Regions from separate parts of the Homo sapiens genome. Here region 1 is linked to region 2. Evidence: promoter capture Hi-C in 16 types of primary human blood cells and fetal thymus (Javierre and others, 2016). All regions are on one chromosome and are shown on one strand. The core of a region is centred on a gene start or on the middle of the fragment in contact, and the rest is flanking DNA. Distances in the headings are between cores, read along the strand shown. Region 1 overlaps BIVM-ERCC5 (BIVM-ERCC5 readthrough). Region 2 holds the start of DNAJC3 (DnaJ heat shock protein family (Hsp40) member C3).

Region 1 (6,980 bases), core at 3,784-6,283, 7.2 Mb after region 2:
ACAGGATTGGAATGAGGAATAAAGAAATTGCCTACATGAGAGAAGTTTAGTGCGATTAATACAGTAAATCTTAAAGTTATTATCCTGTCCGGGAGGTCAGTAAGGAGAGCAGAGTAGACTTCGACGATTAGTTTTGCTTGAGTCTTGCCCCATTTATGTTTCTTAGAGGAAGGATAGTGTGGACAGGTGTTTTACCCATTTTTTAAATTGACTTTTTAAGGACTATTGTTTCTGTACATGTTTGGCTGGTTTTGTTTGTCATTGGAATTAAATTCTTTTTTCATTAGCAAAACGTGATACTGCTTTTGAAATTTTTATCTTTTTCTTTGTTATGTAGTCATTTTTTTTTTTTTTTTGAGTATCTATTCTGGCTCAGAATCTGGTGATACCTTACACCAATTTCCTAAATGGGGATCTATGAGTCTAGGGGCTCGTGGGCTTGTGGAAAGAGTCCTGTAAATGATTGCGGGGGGATTGGGGACGGGAAATGGAGTGCAAGAGTGTGTGGGCGTTCAGCAAAGGAATCCCTGACTGTGGAGCCCTAATTCTTCAGTAGGTACAAAACTTATAAATAAAACGACATTGATAAGTTTTAAAACATAATGAGATTATCATTTTTTGCAAGTGAATAATCTTTAAATAAATCTGTAATTGATTTTTGGCTTAAAAGTTTTTATACAGGGTACTTTGAATTGGGGAAAGCCAAAGGATTTTTGTTTTGTTTTGTTTTGTTTTTTGTTTTTTAGAGCACATGCGCTGTTGCTGCCCTCAAGCTGTTGCTTAGTATCATTGCAGTCTAAAGATTTTCTCAGAAATAAAGGGTAAAGGTTAGTTTTCAGTGACAAGAACCCTTAAAACTTCAGCAAAGATTTAGATCATTTTATGTAGCAGCCCTTGTGAAGAATTACTAAAGAGGACTGTGGCCAGGCTCAGTGGCTTACGCCTGTCATCCCAGCACTTTGGGAGGTCAAGGCAGGAGGATCATTTGAGCCCAGGAGTTCAAGACCAGCCTGGGCAACATAGTGAACCCCTGTCTACACACAGTCAAAAAATTAGCTGGACGTGGTGGCCTGCACCTTTGGTCCCAGCTACACGGAAGGCTGAGGCAGGAAGATTGCTTGGGCCCAGGCGGTCAAGGCTGCAATGAGCCGTGTTCATGTCTGTCTCTGAATAAATAAATAAAAAGGACTGTGAAAGACATTCTAGTCATGACAACCTCATATATTTATAATAAACTCGTTTATGTCAAAGGAGTATATCTGATTACTTGTTCTACAATCGGTTTTGCTTTATTTCATTTTCACGGGAATTCAGACACCTGAAATTATTTAGATTTTATTGTATTGTTTGTTAATGACAAACTTACCCGTTATTATACTAGTTTCATAATTTACTCTTGTATCTCTATACTAAATTGTTTGGTCTTTAAACCATCTATATAGCTTAGTGTCTTATTTATACAGTCTAAATGTCTGTGTCAAATAATGCAGAAGTAAGTTAAACTTTTGTCTCTTATAGATTTTAATGTTTGTAATATGCGTTTAAGTGTATTAGCAAGATATTACCATCTCTTTAGGCTATGTATACTAATGGAGATTTTTAAGTCACCTAACTAAAGAACTAAAGAAACTTATTTTTTGTATTGAAATGTTATTGGTCTTTGGGTCTTATACCGAAAGTGATTTTTGGCTTTGCTGCAGATTTTAACTTTTCTGTCCGCAGAAATTTAATTTTGCGTATATAAACTTACTGAAATTAGACAAGTCAAATTATACAAATATTTTCAGATTGTCTCATTTTTCATATTTCTTGTCTAACAATTTATGTGAATATTTTCAGGTCGTCTAATTTTACATATTTCATCTCTAAGAATTCAAGCCAAAATTCTCAACCCTAGCTGAGAATTGGCATTACCTGTAGTTAATTGAAAAATAAAAAATAAAAGAAGTCCTACCTCAGTCTCTATGATTTAGAATTTTAGGCCCATGGGGTTTAATAATCCGTATGTTTCAGAAGCTTCATATCCTATTCTAATGGATAGCAGGGATGAGAGCCACTGATCTGAAACTAGATTTCCTCACTGAAGTTAAAGTTTAAAGTAGTGGGCCAAGTAGAAACTAATTTAATCCTATGTAATAGTGAGCTTCATGGCTTTTCCAGACTATACTTGTAGCAAGCAGAAACATCGATCTAATACAAGACAGATGCACATCAACACCAAGTTCTACCTCTGAGATGTATCTTTTATCCGATCTCTTCTCGTGGTCTCCACCACTACTGTCTGCGTTAACTTGGGCTATTGTAACTCATTTTAGAACTGGTTTCCTTATAATCTGTTCTTCACATGTTCATCAAAGTTATCCTTAAATCATGTTCTAGAAACTTCCCAGTGGCCGTATCACCTCCTGCCATTCCTTTTGTCCTGCTGCACTGGCTTCCTGGAGATAGGGACCGTCTCTGTTTTGTTCATGGCTGAATTGTTTGGTGTATATCCCTAGGGTCTTGGATATGCCTGGCCCATGGTATTGCTAAATATTATAGAAATAAGCATAGCAGTAGCTTGCTTTCCACTAGGTATTTTGTTACATAGTGTTTTGTAAATTAATTGTTGATGGACCTACATTTTTTTTTATGTTAGTAAAAGTTAGGCAGTGTACATTCATTTAAATACTAAACTGTTCAACTTATTTAATAGCAGATATTTATTGTGTATAAGAGTCCCTGTGAAAGGGAGTGCAGTGCACAAATTGCCCGGGCAAGCCATGGAGCACACAGGCTGGGTTTTTTCCCTGCTAGATTATAAACTCCATAGGGCCAATACTGTGTTTTGTTCAGTGCACTGGATATGCCAGTGCATAGAAAAAATGCTGCCACATAATAAAAACAGAAATAACGTGATAGGTGGCCCCTTCAATGTTCTTTTCCTATGTTAGAAATTTACCTGCAAATATTAGCATCAGTCCAGGTTTCTCTCTGTTTTTTTTTTCTTTTTGTTTTTTTTTGAGACAGAGTCTCCCTCTGTTACGCAGGCTCGAGTGCAGTGGCGTGATCTTGGCTCACTGCAACCTTCGCCTCCCAGGTTCAATCGATTCTCCTGCCTCAGCCTTATAGGCACACGCCACCATGCCTGGCTAATTTTTGTATTTTTAGTAGAGACAGGATTTCACCATTTTGGCCAGGATGGTCTCGATCTCCTGACCTCAGGTGGTCTGCCCGCCTTGGCCTCCCAAAGTGCTGGGATTACAAGTGTGAGCTACCGCACTCGGCCTCAATATATTTTTTAAATAGGAATGTATACAAGGAGGATGTCTTCATCTAGACTGAGGAGGGGACCCCTGGACTGAGACCTTAGAGTAGGAGAGAACTAGGCGGAGAGAGGGAGAAACTGTTTCAGGCAGAGGAAGCAGCATGTGAGAAGAACCTGGAGGCAGGAAGGAGCTTAGTGATTTCTGGGTTTGAGGAAAGCCCAGTAGCAGGAAGTGAGCAGAGGCCAGATCATTCAAGGCTTCCTAGACCAGGAGAAGAAGTTTTAGATAGTATCTTGAAGGCAGTGGGAAGCTTTGGAGGGTTTTCACCAAAGATACGTTGGTGAAATCTAGTATATACCTTCAAGATACATTAGAAGATAGAATTGATAGACCTGGTAATAGCTATAGGTGGTGATGCCCAGCATTCTGGCTCAGGTGAATGGCAGGGACATTCACTGAGATGGGGGCATGAGCAGCTGAGTGGAGAAGACATGGAGTTCAGTTTTGATCATGTTAAGTTTGAAATGTCTATGAGGTATGGGGTAGAGACGTCATCTGGGCTCTCTGTTCTGGGGTCAGGAGCGTGCTCTGGGCCAGACATATACATGGAGTCAGGGCGTGGTGTATGTGGAGGGGAGTGGAGGTTGATAGTTCAGACAGGAGGAAAGAAGAGGGCCTGAGAAAGATCACTGATGAAGTGAATACTTTAACAGTGTTACAGGAGCTGGCAAAGAGTCTGAGAGCAGGAAAACCAGCAGAGCGCGGTGTCACTCTTTCTTTTGGACAAATATAACATTTTTTGAGAAGCACTTTTTAGAAAAGTTTAAAAATATAAGAAAACTTCAAGATGAAAATATAAGTTATCTTTAGTCTCAGCAGACATAATATCTACTTTAATATTTTGGTATGTGAACTAGTTTTTTATATTTAACATATATACTGTATCAGAAAATGGAGTTATACTTTATATGGTTTTATAGCCTGTTTTACTATCTTTAATAATATTTAATGACTATCTTCCTTATCACACATGCTCCTGCAACTTCCATTTTTAAGGGCTTTTTGGTATTCCAGCAAATAGGTCTGCCATAATTAGTTTTTCTTTTTTGAGACGGAGTCTTGCTCTGTCACCAGGCTGGAGTGCAGTGGCGCGATCTCGGCTCACTGCAACCTCTGCCTCCTGGGTTCAAGCGATTCTCCTGCCTCAGCCTCCTGAGTAGCTGGGACTACAGGTGCGCACCACCATGCCCAGCCAATTTTTGTATTTTTAGTAGAGATGGGGTTTCACCATGTTGGCCAGGATGGTCTCGATCTCTTGATCTCGTGATCCACCTGCCTCGGCCTCCCAAAGTGCTGGGATTACAGGTGTGAGCCACCGCGCCCGGCCTATGATTAGTTTTTTAAAAAGACCTGCTGGAAAACTTTTAAGTTGATTTTTATATTTTCATTATTATAAACAAGCATTCTGTAAATAACTCTCATTATATATCCATGATGATTTTCTGAGGATCAATGTCTGGAAGTGGTAAAATAGACTGCAAAGTTTTAAAAAGTTTTTTTCACTATGAATTGTCAAATTGTCCTCCAGAAAATTTGTGCTAATTCATGAAAATTCTTTAGCAATCACTTATTTTTTTTTAAAGAAGCAATTCTTTGCAATGAGACTTCTTAAAAGGATATGTCTGTCTTTGTATGATTTTAAAATGCAGTATGTGAATAGGGGTAACAAGAGTTCAACTAAAAGTTAACTGACTTTAGGTAGATCCCATGAGAGCTAAATGTTTTTCAATTTTAAATGAATAGTGATAAGTATTTAGTGTTCAACGTTTGGATAATATCAGTTATTAGGAAATTGAAGTTGTGAGGATGAAGAGAAAAATCCCGGAGTTTTTTCCATTAACAATTCTCCCAGATATTAGCATTTGGTTAAACCAAGCACTTAAAGGAGTCCGGGATCGCCATGGGAACTCAATAGAAAATCCTCATCTTCTCACTTTGTTTCATCGGCTCTGCAAACTCTTATTTTTTCGAATTCGTCCTATTTTTGTGTTTGATGGGGATGCTCCACTATTGAAGAAACAGACTTTGGTAAGTGTCGTATAGTTTTTAGTAAGTGTCAAATAATTTTTTTCTTTCTGCATTCTTAGAAAAATTCACATAAAATTTTTGTTTTCTCTTTAGAATTTTAGAAACAGACTTATTTTGACACATACTTAATTACATCTACTTTTTTATCTTGAACAATTAATTTTTCTTTTAAAAAGTTTTATGAGAGTTCATCATGGGTACAATGATAAAATTTAACTTTTAAATAAAACTAACTACTAAAAACCTTGCTGTTGAGAGTTTTCCCTTCAGAGGATCTTGTTAGGTGTTTTATATTTATTTCAAGGATGCGGCCATCACTCAGAACACTGTGGAAACCCTCTTTTGGGAAGTGCCTCCCTGAATCTGAGATCAAGTATCCTCCGTGATAGCAAGCCTTCTTTTAAGGGGAATTGGATTTTAGGAGTAAGCAATGTTATGTGGTGCCAAGTGGTGACTAAAGTGGATTATCTAGGAAGGAAATTGACCATGATATAGAAGAGTCAGAATGAGTTGCTGCTTTATTGTTCTGGAAGTAGTTTTAAAAAATGTTTTTGGAAGGCCGGGGGCAGGAGGATTGCTTGAGCCCAAGTCCAGCCTGGGCAACACAGGGAGACCCCATCTCTAAAAAAATGACATAAAATAATGTTTAAACAGTCCAAATGACAGCACCCATTTGGATATATGACTTTTATTTGTTGAAAATACCAAAGTAATGAAATGATGACTTTGTAATCATACCAGATACTCTCTAAATGAGGATATAGGATAAAAGTAAGGATATAGGATAAAAATAAAAAGCATTTATAAATGCTGGGGGACCTTTGTTGCCTCAGTAAGAGTGTCTAGTCTTGAATGTTGCAGTTTTCAGTTACCCAAGGCATACTGTAAATCAGGTACTTTGTGGAAGGATTAGAAAGGAAAAGAGAATATCTTGGTTATTTTTATCCGATATTCAGCCATAAGCACAGGGACTATCCATTTGTCACTACTTGAACATTTCTTACAAGATATTTCTATACATTTTAGAATTTCTCATGATATATAATCTTGAATATTGAAGGGCAGAATTACATGTAAGTAATGCATGTTTATAAAAAGCAATATTAGAAATTGTTTTTGGTGTCACTGTGACATTTTATAGAATAAATAAATAATTTCTTTTGGGAAGCATTTAAGCTTTCCACTTCTTGGGCATATTAAAAGACATTTAAAAGAAACTGAAAGTAAATTAAGTTTCCCAAATATATTGTGTAGTAGCCCATTAAGTAATAGATGGAAACTCTGGGTGTCCTTTACGTAGCAGCAACCTGAAGATATACACTGATATGGCAATTAGGAGGAAATGCTAAAGCAGCCATAGTCTGAAAACTCAGACAAACCAAATTCTCTGGAAAATAAATCACAGCAATGTTTCTAGTGGTCTAATATCCTGAAGTGAGATCTTACATCCTTTCTTCTCATAGGTGAAGAGAAGGCAGAGAAAGGACTTAGCGTCCAGTGACTCCAGGAAAACGACAGAGAAGCTTCTGAAAACATTTTTGAAAAGACAAGCCATCAAAACTGCCTTCAGAAGCAAAAGGCAAGAGGAAAATTATAGTCGTGTTAGAGATGAAGTTTTAAAAAAGTGATTTTTGTCTTGATTTC
Region 2 (6,754 bases), core at 223-2,722:
AAAAAAAAAATCCCAAGGAATTTCTGAAGGAGCCTCTCTTCACTACTCTGCTCTTGTTAGAATAATGAGTAACACTGGTATAACATTCTACAATTTACAAGAATATTTATCTGCTTCATGAAACCTCAAAACAAACCTTTGAGACTATCAGGATCCTAACCACTTTACAGATGAAGATAACTTACATAATAGTTATGGGGTTTCCTGGATCTGACTCCTTTATTCTTCACATTACATTATGTTGCCTTCCCCACAACTAATCAAGGACTCCGTTTTTTCTTTTTTCTTTCTCGAAACCATTTCCTCCATATTAGTTCCCTTTGGAATAGAAGCCTTTTTAAAAGTCCACCTTAGTATATCTTCAGGGAATCACAAATTCACTATGCTATTTATAATTCATGAGTTTCTCTAATGGTATCAAGGCAGCAAATACAGGTGAAGTAATAATTATCCACCTGATAGTACTTAACACACATACCCCGTGTAAAAATACTGCTGGTGTACAGTGTGTGTGTTGGTGACGCCGGAGGAAGTGGCCGTGAACAGGCTTAATGCCGCATTGAGTAACTTCAACCTCATCTTGCTCAGGTTCATATCTCTCCTGAATTTCCCCTGGTAAGCGCAAGATTCAGGATCCGTTCTCACAGTTTTTTGTTTACCAGTTGATGTTGGCTGCATTCAGGAACGCCTTGCTCTCTTAAGCCACAGTGCCTTCCTGGTCTCTTCTTCACAGGGTCTTCCACAATCGCTCTTTTTCCTGGGCACGGTGGTTTGCTGAAAGTCGGGGTGGGGGGCGGGGCGTTCCCAAGTTTCCAGGCCAATTACCTACCTGCCTTAGAGCAATTACGCACTTCTCTCTGGTAGTCCCTGAAATGTTCTAATCATCAGATCGCCCCAGCTTCTCCTGACCGTTTCTTGCTTACGGCTCAGTTCAGACAGTATTTGTTCCGGGACGCTCAGCGGGAGGCGGTTTTTACCGGCTCACTCGAGACCCCAATTCCAGGCGCCCTGCAGCTTCCCTCAGACTCCCCGGGACCGTGTTTGGCCTTCCCATTCGTACGCTGCGGCTGCGCTTTCCTCTCGTAACACCACGCTGGCGAACCTGGAAAGGATCAAATAGTCCCACTCGCCAACCTAGCGCGGCGGGACCGGCCCAAAAGGGCCTTTGCAGCCTGCGCATGCGGACTCGGCGGCCGCCACCGACTCCCCGTCTGCTTCCCTCCGGGCGGCAGCCGCGGTTTGGAGCTTGCTGACAGCTCTGCGACCGGCGGGCGCAGCCTCGTCTCGTGCTTCCACGTTATCCTATCAGGGACGGGGCGGGGCGGCGGCCTCCGCAGCCTATCAGCGCGAACCACGACCCCGGCGAGCCCGGGAGGAAAGCCGCCAGAAAGAAGGCGATTGGATGGCGGCGGCGCTCTGGGGCGTAGCGTCGCCCGGGCCCCGCCCACCGCTGCCTTCCTCTGCTGGGCTCCAGAGCCACTGAGGCCTGAGCGAGAGCCGACGGCGGGCGGGCGCAGCTGCTGCCGGAGCGCCGGCGCGTGCTGGTGGGCCACACACCTTTCCTCCTCTTCACTCGCGAGCCCTCGGACATGGTGGCCCCCGGCTCCGTGACCAGCCGGCTGGGCTCGGTATTCCCCTTCCTGCTAGTCCTGGTGGATCTGCAGTACGAAGGTGAGTCCTGCCCTGCCCCGGCCAGGAAGTGGGCTCCCGGACCAGGCCCCCCGCGCTTTCCCGTCTGCGCCCGGGCGCCTGTCCCGGAGCGGCTCGGGAGGTGGGGCGAGCGCTGGGGGAGCCCGCGGCCTGGCTTGGGCCTGAGCCCGCGCCCGGTTCCGGGTTTGTCTGGGGAAGAATCGAGGGGACTGGCGGGCCGCGGGGCCGGGACAGCGGGTTTGGACTAAGGAACCGGGCCGCAGGAGTCGGAGGAGGCGGGGTGCGGGGGCACCGGGCTACGACTTCAGGAAGTCCTGGGACGCGGAGACTTGGGCAGCCTTTGGGTCCTGGCCTCGCTTGGGACCCTCGCTGGGCGCCTGGGGACACTGTCAGTCATTGGTGCTGGCTGGGAGGAGGCACTAAGGTGGCCAAAAGACTTCCTTCGCTCTGGAGTTCTTGGGTGGGGAAGGAGTGTCATGTCCGGCTGGGAGTTGGAGGGGACAGTGTTGACTATTTAAAAAGTGTGTAACCATCCCCATTAAGATGCACTGTCGTGTAGAGAAATTGTTAGTTTGGTGCAATGAGGAGCCGCTGTTGGAATTCCATCTCCCGGACGGCCAGGCACTGAGTTTGTGGTTTTACAACTCCCAACATGGTGTCATTCAACGTATGGCTGGCATTACTTTTCCAAGTTCGCTGTAAAAAGGTTCCCTTAAAAAGATACGAACGATTAAATTTCACTTCAGTCCTGCAGACTGGAATGTTGGCTACTCCAGAATAGCGAAAATAGAGGGCTGTCCTATCTTAGATGGCAGCGGGGAGGAGTAAGAATTAAAGTTGATAGTGCCGATTTAACGAATGCTTCTGGCGCGGTTACTGTGCGAAATATTCGAGTGTAATGACACATCACATGCACTGATCTATTTTCATCCCCATAAAAAGGGCTAGTTGTCAAGGAGGTCAAATTAAACCTTTGAGTATTCCATTCAAAGGGAGCGAGGAACTAAAAATTGGGAATTGTTTATAGTGAATTCTTCTGAAAGTTCTCAACTTTTTTTTTTAAAGTAGTACTCCCCAGTTTTTAGGTGTCACCCATAGCAATGGGCTTTTGCTTTTGCTTCCCCTGGTAACCATATTTTTTGAACCCCAAATCAGAACACGTAGTGTGGCAACATTGGGACAAAGAATTTGACAGTGAGGCTGCCCCCAGAAAAATCTAGGGGATTGGAATTTGAAGGTCTGTACCACTTTAATATGGGTCATATATTCTAGTTCTTTTGCATTTTCAAAAGCTTCATTCCTCCTGCCCCCGCACCCCACCATCCCTCATCTGTAGTATTTATCTCCAGTTATCATTAATAATTTATTTTGGACACTTAAGAGAAAGTTGCCTATGTTCTGTTTAATGGTGATTTTTTTTTTTAAGTTACAGAGATGCACAATTTTGAATGATTGCTTTTCCCACTACTTTTTAGAATTGCTGTTCTGTATATGAGTCTGTAAGGACTCTTAACTCTTCATTTCCCTCCTGTGGTATTTTCCATAAGAAAACCACATTTGAGAGCTTTTCTGTGTAGGAGGCACTGGTGACATTTCTCAGAGGAGTGCCAGAGTGTCTTCTTTAGGACCATTGTCTGTGTAAAATAGCAGGGACTTAGTACAGGTAACAGAAAAAGGAAAGAAAGGAGCCTTTCTGTAAGCCATATCTTATTCACGAAAGCGTGTGGTATTCATTCCTACTTTACAGACCAGGGAACTGAGGCTCCAAAGGTTTTACTAAAGTTCATTTTGTGTGCACGCTGGAGACAGAAGTTAAGTAGTTGACAACATCATGTGAGTCCAAGCACTTTTAAGTGATGGCAGCTGAGAAAAAAAATCAGCACTTTTTTTTTTTTTTTTTTTTTGTAATTAACAAGAAGGTTATTTCCTGGGAGGTTTAATACAGTGGTTCTCAAACTTGAGTGTGCATCAGAATCGCACATGGAGGGCTTTTTAAAACAGAGTGCTGTACCCCACTTACAGAGTTTGATTCATTAGGTCTTGATGGGACCTGAAATTTTGCGTTTCTAGAAAGACCCTGGATGACCACACTTGAGAACCACTGGTGTAATAAATTATATAGAGGAGTTAAATTAGGTGTCTGCTATGTATTTGACACTGGATTTGGTGATAGGGATATAAAGGTAAGAACTCTGACTTGAATTAGCAAACCGTTAGCCCCTGTTTTCCCAAATAAATTGTGTCTGGATTCACTAATCTCATAGTTCTCTGAAAGGCAAATGGTGCTACTGCTAGGCCTGAGGCTTAATAAAATTGTGTTGTATTAAGGATTTTTGTTAAATAGGTAGGTTTTAGCTGCTCTTGTCACACAAAAAGTAATTATGTGAGATGATAGATATATTAATCTGCTTCACTCTTATTAATCTGCTTCACTATTGTAACCATTTTATGTGTGTATATCTCATAATACTATGTTGTAAACATCAAATATATACAATACAATTCACTTTTAAAAAAAGAAATGAAGGAGAATGGTTATGAGAGAAGTGAATGTGGAACTAAGAGTGGCACAGGATGGGGAAGAGATAACCTAGTGTTTTTCTGATTTTGAAATATTTGCCTTTGTTTTCTTCTAGATTTTTCTGTTAATTGTCATCCAGAGACAGAAAGTATATATCATGAATTGAAAGTTTGAGTCTTTTGGCACCCTCCCTTCTCAAAGGCGTTTGAAAGAGTGAAGTCTAAAGCACTAGATGAGATCGAATTTTTGGAATAGAAAGAAAACTTTAGTAGTATCTGCTTTAGTATTCTCATGTTACAGATAAGGAAGTTATTTCATTTCTTTGCTAATGGTTTGTCCTCTTGGTGACTTGAGTAGCAACACAGCCTGGGAACGAAACCTTTTTTCTCTTATCATAGTTTTATCTCTTTTTCTTCCTTAACATGCTATCTGGACCCAATTTTTCTTTATTTCATTGAGCTGATTAAACCATATATTTTGGCCATGGGGAAAAGAATAGTTGAAAATATATAGTTGAAAATCTATACGTATAAAATATTGTGATAAGTTTTATTTGAACCATGATAAGTTTTATTTGAACCTAACCTATTAAAGGTATGTTTTGTCTTTTCTAGGATTTTCTTGACATTATCTAAATAGGGAAAGAATAAAGTAGCAAAAATGAGTGACTTTAAGTAATTTAAATAAATTAAGTATCATAAAAGGTGGTCACATATTTTCTAGAATTATTTTAAATTCTTTAATAAGATAGGCTGTAGTTAGCAGTAGTATCAAAGTTCCAGTTCTCTTGACATAGTTAGTATTTGCTGAGAAACTGCCTGGAAATGCAGTGGTTTTCATTCTGTGAGGTAGGGGAAGTTGTTCTGGGAGGGGATGCACTGTAGTAATTAGGTTTTATTTTCCCATATGAAGTTAATTAATTGTTGTTAAGTTTAATTTCTACTGCTGTGGTCTCTTTTGATTAGTGTCCTGCAGTTAATCTTTGTTTATATGGAAGTATCATGGGAACCCATTCACCTGCTCTTCAGAACGCAAACATTTCAACCATAGATTTATTTTTCTTTCCATATCTTTAGAAAGCTACTTAAAAAAATTAAATCTGATGAGTTTGTATCATTTGGAGTTCTGGAATATGGAGAAGACTCATTTAATCAGTCAGCAAAGGCTTTTACTAACTATATTGCTCTTTGGTGAGGTATATATACGTAGCATAGAACTCATGGCTTTTGCTTTTGAGTTTACAGACCACTTAGGGTTTAAGACATGCATTTGTGAAGCATTCACGTCCTCTTTTTCTCCTTTCCCGCTTTAGACTGAGTGGTCCATTATTGTAGTTAGTGTACTGCAAATGCCCATTTATTTTCTGGCCCCTGTAATCTTCTGTTTTACTCACCTGCCAAAACCCAACACTGGTTAAATTCAACTTGGCCAACTGTTTTTATACCTTATAGGTAAACACGGACGGAGGAAAATGGAGACAACTTTGCTGATTAGTCTCATTTATCTTTATTTTTATTTTCAATTTTTTTTCGAGACAAGGTCTTGCCCTGTCACCCAGGCTGGAGTGCAGTGGCATGATCCTAGCTCAATGTAGGCTTGACCTCCTGGGCTCAAGCAGTCCTCCCATCTCAGCCTCCTGAATAGCTGGGACCACAGGTATGCACCACTGCATCCCCTACTAAGTTTTTAAAATTTTTTGTAGGGACAGGGTCTTCTATGTTGCCCAGGCTGGTCTTGAACTCCTGGGCTCAAGCAATCCTCATCCCTTGGCCTCCCAAAGTGTTGAGATTACAGGCACGAGCCAATGCACCTGGCCCTGATTAGTCTCATTTTAAAGAAACAATCTCAGTCGCAAATGCACATTAAATACTGCTAACACTCCCACAATTCTTTACTATGTCTATTCTTGAAAATCAATATTTCAAACATTTTCCTCCTTTCTGAAGCCTCTAATTTAAACTCTCCTTTCCTCTCTCCCCTACCTCATTCTTTTAGACCTTGTCTTTACTGAGAAAATGAAAGCCATCACAAGGCAAGTTCTTCTTTCTACCTCAAAATTCACTAGCTTATCTACATTTGTACCTATTCTGCTACTTTTTCTCATATTGAAATACATTAAATGTCTCTATTCCCAGATAAATCTAATCTGTGTACTTACACCCTGGATTCCATTTCCTCTCACCTTCTGAAAATGTTGCTCCTACAGTTGTATCTTTGTGCTGCTATAACAAAATACCACAGACTGAGTAATTTATAAAAAAAATTTCAACCTGAATTTTGGAGAGAACATTCAGATAATAGTAGATGCTGAACTTCCTGTACTATCTTTCTTTGGCTAGATTCCACTGTCTTCTGTGTTTCTGCTACAAGACTTCTTTTAGACTCTACCCCACCTTGCTAGAGTCTTGGCTTAGCCTTCTGTTCTTTTTTAGAGAAGAAACTTAGGGCTTTCCTCATTCCTCATATTCTAAGTGCTCCAACCTGAATAACCATCTCTCTCTCTGGGATTGCTCTCTGGTCTGGGTCTGCCACCGCCTTTGCTTGAACTTTAGTATCTTTGACTATGAGTTCTTGCCTCCTTTA

What was found. The method cuts DNA at HindIII sites, captures the fragments that hold promoters and counts their contacts. A CHiCAGO score of 5 or more calls a contact.
Region 1: a fragment that was not itself captured here is called in contact with the fragment with the promoter of DNAJC3 in region 2 in 1 of 17 cell types (non-activated CD4 T cells); the score reaches 5.3 in non-activated CD4 T cells.

Annotation. Positions count from the first base shown.
Region 1 is chr13:102,846,958-102,853,937 of GRCh38, forward strand. It overlaps BIVM-ERCC5 (BIVM-ERCC5 readthrough), which reads left to right. Exons shown (of 23, transcript NM_001204425.2): 10 at 5,161-5,336; 11 at 6,800-6,915. It overlaps ERCC5 (ERCC excision repair 5, endonuclease), which reads left to right. Exons shown (of 15, transcript NM_000123.4): 2 at 5,161-5,336; 3 at 6,800-6,915. Among named protein-coding and RNA genes, the nearest start is that of ERCC5, 4.4 kb to the left of the region's middle. The HindIII fragment of the contact is 2,954 bases long and covers 3,557-6,510 here.
Region 2 is chr13:95,675,667-95,682,420 of GRCh38, forward strand. DNAJC3 (DnaJ heat shock protein family (Hsp40) member C3) reads left to right here and starts at 1,473. Exons shown (of 12, transcript NM_006260.5): 1 at 1,473-1,671. The coding sequence starts at 1,590. It overlaps DNAJC3-DT (DNAJC3 divergent transcript), which reads right to left and starts at 1,259. Exons shown (of 2, transcript NR_132117.1): 1 at 186-1,259. RefSeq lists enhancers at 563-1,410, 674-773, 1,411-2,257, 1,604-1,653 and silencers at 1,294-1,533, 1,764-1,853. The HindIII fragment of the contact is 3,320 bases long and covers 1-2,940 here.